2 separate regions of the Homo sapiens genome follow, and region 2 is linked to region 1. Evidence: promoter capture Hi-C in 16 types of primary human blood cells and fetal thymus (Javierre and others, 2016). All regions are on one chromosome and are shown on one strand. Each heading gives the region's core, a stretch centred on a gene start or on the middle of the fragment in contact. The rest is flanking DNA. Distances are from core to core; before and after follow the strand shown.

The links. The method cuts DNA at HindIII sites, captures the fragments that hold promoters and counts their contacts. A CHiCAGO score of 5 or more calls a contact.
Region 2: a fragment that was not itself captured here is called in contact with the fragment with the promoter of SLC16A14 in region 1 in 8 of 17 cell types (erythroblasts, M1 macrophages, M0 macrophages and 5 more); the score reaches 8.5 in erythroblasts.

Annotation. Positions count from the first base shown.
Region 1 is chr2:230,067,160-230,070,964 of GRCh38, forward strand. It overlaps SLC16A14 (solute carrier family 16 member 14), which reads right to left and starts at 1,765. Exons shown (of 5, transcript NM_152527.5): 1 at 1,396-1,765. The region is part of intron 1 of LOC107985995 (a long non-coding RNA gene); the gene reads left to right. RefSeq lists enhancers at 473-1,243, 1,639-1,758, 1,769-1,828 and silencers at 619-868, 1,139-1,408. The HindIII fragment of the contact is 4,045 bases long and covers 262-3,805 here.
Region 2 is chr2:230,587,740-230,591,537 of GRCh38, forward strand. LOC112268431 (a long non-coding RNA gene) reads right to left here and starts at 1,917. Exons shown (of 5, transcript XR_002959453.2): 1 at 1,759-1,917. RefSeq lists enhancers at 1,515-1,664, 1,825-2,074. The HindIII fragment of the contact is 1,689 bases long and covers 902-2,590 here.

The DNA.
Region 1 (3,805 bases), core at 515-3,014:
GCCTTTAGAGGGCGCACTTGCGGCCAGCAGGCTGAAGAGGCTGCCGCGGAGAAGGCTGGGGAGCGGAGCTGAGCTGAGCTGGTGCAGACAGCATAGGAGAAAAACAGAACCGAAAAATTCACACCGAATTAGGAGGACTCAACACATACATGCTTCGCTCTGGGTCAGGGACTGTGCTTGGTGGCTTCTCCTCCAGTCCAATTGGCATGAATGTCCGCATTTTACAGAGGAAGAATCTGAGCCATCAAATGGGAGCAATGAAGCTTAGAAAGGTTAAACTAGCAGGCTGTGGAAACCAAATCGGAACCCAGGCCTGCAGGATCCCAAGCCTGTTTTACCTCCTCCCACCCCCAACACTGCCTCTCTCCCCTCTCTTCTCTCTCTCTCTCTCTCTCTCTCTCTCTCTCTCTCTCACACACACACACACAGCCGCACACGCACGCACATGCAAACAAAGAAGCCAGACAAGGCAAAGGAGAATCTCTCTAAGCCCCAATAATGGCCCTCAGTCATCCTTGTTAATGAGCCCGAATCAACTTTTCCTCAGAAAGAAAATGGCTTAATTGGAAAGCAGAGTTCAGCTCCTAAAACATCGTCATGGCCTTGGCAGCGTTTAGCCCCGAAATGGCCGTCCCCGGTCTCTCACCCCATTTCAGCCTCTCTTGAGGAGCCTCAATCGGAAGCGCTAAGGGGGCCCAGCCTCTGCGCGCCCTGGGTGCGGGATCGTGCCCGCGGGGTCCGGCCTCGCGCCCCACCCTTCGAGCGCCCGCCCCCACCCGCGCTCGGTGCTCCCGCTCCCTTGGCACCCCGAGACCACATCCCCACTTCGGGCACCCCGCATCCCTCGGCGCGTTCGGAAGCCAGCAGCCCACCGGGGAAGCTGGGCCGGCTGCAGCACCACAGCCTGTGCAGAGAGGCATCCGCACCCCGCGAAGTCCCTAGGCGCAGCCCCGGGTCCCCCGCTCTGCGCCTCATCACTGTCCAGTTCGAGTCCCAAACGGGCCTAGAGAGCAGCCGGGCAGCGAGGCTGGGCTCCGGGCAGAACGCGCTTCTCCAGCCGGACGGGGGTGCCCAGGATGACGCTCGCGGGGCCCCGGCCAGCTTGAGCAGCAAGGCGCGCGTCCCCAAGCTCCGCCTGGCGGTCTGCCCTGAACCGCCGGTTACCCTGCCCGCCCGCAGCTCCCAAGCCCCCGCGGCGGCCTTGGCACTACCACCTGCCCCGGCACAGTCTCGCCCTCCACCGCCCGGGCAGCCTTTCCCGAGCCTGCCTTGGGCTGGGGCTGCCCCTTCCCGGGGGTCCCTGGGGGTGCAGCGGCCATCTGAAACCTAGGCTCCGATGCCCCCGGCGTCGCTCCATTCCCCAGGCCCGCGGCGCGCGCGGCCTCGGATACTCACCGCCCGAGGCCCGCTGGGCTGCGGCCTCACTCGGCTCCACGCCCGGATCCTCGAACTTGCTGCTCTGCTTGGAGCCCCCTGAGCTGCTGGGTGTAGAGATTTGTTGCAATGTCGCCTATCATCCTGGAGACGCGGGTGCCTGCGGCTCAGCTCTCCGCCCGGCTCGGTGCGCTCTGTGAGGGGCTCCCGGGCTCTTCCGCCGCTCGCTGCCAGGCCAGGTGAGCGTTTGGTGGAGCTGAAAGCTCGACGCCTCAGTCCAGGTGGCTTTAAAACGGGTGCGTTTGGAGGTGCCCAAACCTAACCTGGGCTTCCTTCCAATCGGAGCAATTTCAAATCTTCATGCTCGTTCATTCCTATACCGGCTAATTCTGGTTTGGCAGGGAAAAAAAATGCAGTCACCTCACATGCACACTCTTGTGGCCGGTTGAAGTTTATAGCTTTGGCTGAGGTTCCGCTAAGGCGCTGCACATTTATCACTGGCGGAAAGGTCCTGAAATCTAATCCAGGATGCAAGTGAGACTAGCAGTAGCCTCCATTTCTCTGAGATGGGAGAGAAGGGATGAAACAGACCCTCACTGAAATATTTTTGGCCAAAGAGGACTCAAAGTCCCTTATTCTCTCTCTTTTAGAGACACGGGTTTCACTATATTGCCAGGCTGGTCTCGAACACTTGGACTCAAGGAATCCTCTGGCCTTGGCCTCCAAAGTGCTGGGATCACAAGCTGAGCCACCGTGACCGGCCAGTCCCTCATTCTTGTTTCCACCCTGGGTCCCACCTCTCCCTGCTCTTTCTGCACGTCCATTACCTACCTTCGTGGGCACCAGGCACAACTTTCATCTCAATACCTCCCTACCTCATTCCCAGCAGGGCACACAACATAGTGCTTTGCCTTGGACAGTTTTCTGTATTATTGAAGTGAATGTGTGAGTCGATGAAGCCTGTGCTGTTTTTTCCCGCCTGAAGGTTTTGCAGTAATTCTCTGCTGCTGTTGTGATAAACTGCCACAGTAATAGCAGAGGAAAACCACACAAATTCACTATTTTACAGTTCTGGAGGTCGGAAGTTTGAAATGGGTCATACTAGGCTGAGATCATGGTGTTGGCCACCTTGAAGGCTGTGTTCCTTCTCGTGGCTGTAGGGGAGAGCCACCAGCTTCTGCAGGCCGCCCACATTCCTTGGCTGGTGGCTCTTCCTCCATCTTCAAAGCCAGCACTGCTGCGTCATTTTGTCTTCTTTCCATACTCACATTGCCTTGTCTCCCCTTTTCTGCCCCCACCCCTGTCCACTTTTAAGGACCCTGGGGATTACATTGAGTCCAATGAGATAATCCAGATAATCTCTCTATTTTAAGGTCAGCTGATTAGCAACCTTAATTCCATCTGCAACCTTAATTCCCCTCTTGCCATGTAAGGTAACAAATTCACATGTTCCAGGGATTAGGATGTGGACATCTTTGGGAGACCATTATTCTGCCTACCACAGATTTCCTTCTTTCTTCTTTTCCTTTTTCTTTTCTTCCTTCTTTTTCGTTTCTTTGAAAAAAAATTCACATGTATTTCACATTGCCTTCCTCGGTCACCCAAGCTGGAGTGCAGTAGCATGATCACAGCTCATTGCAGCCTCAACCTCCTGGGCTCAGGTGATCCTCCCACCTCAGCCTCCTGAGTAGCTGGGACTACAGGCACACGCCACCATGCCTGGCTAATTTTTTTGACTTTTTATAGAGACGGAGTCTCATTATATTGCCCAGACTGGTCTTGACCTTTTGGACTCAAGTGATCTGGCTGCCTCACCCTCCCAAAGTGCTGGGATTACAGGCATGAGCCGCTGCACCCGGCCTATATTGCTATTTCTTATATCAATTCTGTCTCTCTTTTTTTTTTTTTTTTTTTTTGAGATGGAATCTCACTCTGTCACCCAGGCTAGAGTGCAGTGGCAATCTTGGCTCACTACAACATCTGCTTCCCAGGTTCAAGCAATTCTCCTGCCTCAGCATCCCAAGTAGCTGGGGTTATAGGAGCGTGCCACCATGCCCAGCTAATCTTATATCAACTCTTGATTTAAAAATTATTGAGGCTGGGCACAGTGGCTCACGCCTGTAATCCCAGCACTTTGGAAGGCCAAGGCGGGTGGATCACTTGAGGCTAGGAGTTCAAGACCAGCTTGGCCAACATGGTGAAACCCCGTCTCTACTAAAAACACAAAAATTAGCTGGGTGTGGTGGCGCCTGCCTGTAATTCCAGCTGCTTGGGAGGCTGAGGCACGATATTGCTTGAATCTGGGAGGCGAGAATCGCTTGAACCTTGAGCTGAGATCGTGCCTCTGCATTCCAGCCTAGGCAACAGAGTGAGACTCTGTCTCAAAAAAAAAAAAGAAAAAAAAATTTTGAGAAAATTGTGAGAAATTGTG
Region 2 (3,798 bases), core at 496-2,995, 520 kb after region 1:
AATACTAAATACTTCCCCACTCAATTTGAGAACAAGACAAAAATGTCTACTGTCACCATTTCCATTTAACACTTACTAGAAATCCTAGATAATGCAATCAGGTGATAAAAAGAAATGAAAAGAATAAACCCAAAAGGGAGGAAATGTAACTACCATTATTTGCAGATGACTATATACTTGGAAAATCTAAAGAAATGAACTATTAGAATTAATTAGTAACTTCAGTAAAGTATCTGGATTCAAGGTTAATATGCAAAAATCAATTGTATTTTTGTATACTAGCAAATTATAAGTTTAAATAAAAATAGAAAAACAATATCCTTTTCAAAAGCATCAAAACCACTAACAATAAAGGTAAATCTAACAAAAGATGTTCCAGAACACTACACTGAAAATCATAGAACTTTTGCTGAGAGAAATTAAAGAAAGCCAAAATAAATGGAAAGGTATATTTGTGGATTGAAGACTAAATATTAATATGTAAGTTATCCCCAACTGATTCATAGATTCAATATAATTTTAATAAAATTCAAGTGGAATTGTTTGTGGAAATTGACAAATTGATTTTAAAATATAAATGAAAATGCAAAAGACCAAAGTTAGCCAAAAGAGTCTTGAAAAAGAATCACAATGTTTTAACTTCATATAAAGTTACAATAACTAAGACAACATGATATGGGCATAAAGATAAACATATAAATCAACAGAGACTACAAGAAAGAGAAACACACACATAAGGTCACCAAATTTACAACAAAGACACCGCCACATTTCAGTGGGGAAAACGATGGTCACTTCATGAAATGGTATTGTTGGAGCAATTGAACACCCTACCTCATACCATACACAAAAATTTATTTCAAATGAATCATAGACCTAAATATGAAAGATAAAATAGTAAAGCTTCTAGAGCAGGTAGTATAATATCTTCTTGGCTTAAGGTAGGCAAAGATTTCTTGCAAAAGATCCCAAAACACTAACTATGAAAGAAACCACTGACAAATTAGACTTACTTAAAACTAAGAACTTTTGTTCATCAAAAGACACTATTAAGAGAGTGAAAAAAAGCCACAGAATATGTGAAGATATTCACAACACATATCCAACAGAAGACTTCTATGTAGAACATGTAGGAAGAATGTCTAGTAATTAGAACACAAAAATCCCAATTTTTTTTAAAAAAATAGGCAAAATAACAGGCATTTCATAACAAAATACTCAAATGACCAATAAACATATCAAAAAGTGCTCAAAAGCATTGTTTTTCACGGAAATGCAAAGTAAAAGCTCAATGAGATACCACTATGCCAAGATACCACTATCTATTCACCAAAATGGCTAAGATCTACAAAAAAAAAAAAAACCTAGCATCAAATGTTGAGAAGAATATGCTGTTTGAAACACTCATACGTGGCTAGTGGAGTGACAATTAGGACACCCACTTTGGAAAACTGGCAGTGTCTACTAAAGCCACCCTATGACCGGGCAATTACACTCCTAGGTCTATACCAAGAAAAACAAAGCAAAACCAATACAAGAAACCTCAGGGTTCAAATGTCTTTGTCTCACCCAGGTAACATTTGCAAAAGGGTAAGCCAGGATAGGTAGCGTTCCATCACCAGCTATCACTTGCCACTTTTTACCTGATTTCTCAGAGCTTAGTTTCTTCTACTTTACAATATGCAGTTGGCTTTATGACCCAGTTCAAAGAAGTTTTGGAATAAAACTAAGTATAAGTAAATAAATATAAAAACCCACATGGAGAAAGATGACAAAGGAAGGGAGAAAAAGACGCATCCTCTGTTCACTTGCCACCTCCACCTGCTGACTTCCTGGTCCTGCTACTTTCTAGGCTGCAGAGCCCCATGGGGGCTGACACACCATCCGTCAACATCTATGAACTCTCAGGCCCAATGTGGGCTTTCCAACATGGCTCCCAGGGACCAGAACAAAAAGTCTGAACTGACTCACCCAGAAAGTAGAAAAGGGAAGTGAAAGTATTAATATTTCTGAATGCCTCTGTATTTGTGAAAACTAGGCCACAGATAGTGGGGTTTCTCAACTCTTGTGAAAATATGGTAGCCGGGAATTAAGAAGGACTTACAGAATCATGACTGGAGGACCAGAAGAGGGTACAGGCCAAGGAGGAGGAACAGGAGGCCAACTCCAAGAAGTCCATGGAAGTCAGGGGATCATGTGTTTATGCAAAGGAAAGAGGGCAGAAAACTCTATTTGACCAAAGCTGACTGAAGTTGTTTCTAGGTGAAGTAACATAGTTGATGTTAGAGAGAAGTAAAACTCTGTTTGCCTCCTCCCCTTGCAGACATGGCCATGGGAAAAAAAAAAAAAAGGGAAAGACAGAAACTTCCAAGCCTTTCTCAGGCCTATGAGTTGGTGGGGCACATTGTGACCTTGACTGGACAAGTTAGACCCCAAGCATTTGGATATAGGTTGGAGGAAGCTGAAATGCTCTACATCATAAAGTCAGGGGAATGCCCTTAGAAATTTCTGGAAAGCAGGCAGGGAGGAAAAAGAGAAACCTCTGGACCACTGGGGCCAGAGGCAGGAGCCAAGTTGGTAAAAATAGCCAAGCTTTTAAAGATAGTACAGATATAAGGCTTTTAAAAAATATCCCCAGAATTTGACACTCCTCCCATTGACAGGTGGAGTCTGTGTCCCCTTTCCTTTAATCTGGGATATGTGACTGCTTGACCAACAGAATGTTTGAATATGGCAGAAGCAATGCTATGCTGATATTAAGACCAGGTCTTAAACCACAGGAGGGCCCCAGCCAGCCAGCCAGCCATGTGGTGCGCCATATTGGAAGTTGATGCTGCAGCCCTGGTCGAGCTGCCAGGAGATACCCATCTAGAGCAGACACACACCATCTCCACTGAGCTCTGTCCAAACTGCAGGTGTATCACGAAATAAAATAAGACTTTTATTGTTTTAAATCACTGCTTTAGGGTAGTTTTTTTTTTCACAGTAGTATAACTAGAACAGATTTTGAAGTAGGATGCAGTTATAACAAAAACATAAAACATGGGGCATTTGGCTGTGGGACAGAGCAGTGGATGGAAGCCTAAAGGTGTTCCAGAAGATGTCAGTGCAGTGTATGAGAAAGCGAGAGAAACACTAGTGGAATCTGGAGGAAGGAGACCCTTGTTATATAGTAGTAAAAGTTCTGTAAAACTCTCACCTGCAGTCATGGGGAAGTAGAAAATGTACCTAACAAAATCAATGACCTAGAGATGTCCAGGCAGTGGAGCTCAGAAATGATTCTCATGGGATGGGCCAAGAGGATGAGAACCAAGATTATCTAGGTCTTAAGGGGTGAGATGAAGATCCAGCTACATTTATGTTTGTACACAGTGATTTTTTTCACTCATACTCTGATATTATTCAAGAAAGATTTGAAGTGACTTTTTAAAATACTGAAATGTATCAGTACAAAGTTAAAGATAAATTGGAGCAAAGAGAGAATGAAAGTAGGACATGAACTAAAACCAGGGACCAGAACTCTGAGCCGAACTGTGGGGCAGAGACAGGGAGGCAGCTGGGAGCCCCAGGGATGCTAGAATCTAGGGCTTAAGGTGAGCAGAGCCCAAAAGCAGGTGAGGATTCAGGGGCCCCAGGGGTACCGTGATCCAGAATGATGCTTTCCAAATCATGTTCCACTGAATCTGACTTCTGACTGTTTTTTGGTTTGTTTGTTATGTTTTGTTTTGTTTTTGATACAGAGTCTCGCTCTGTCACCCAGGCTGTAGTGCAGTGGCATGATCTTGGCTAACTGCAACC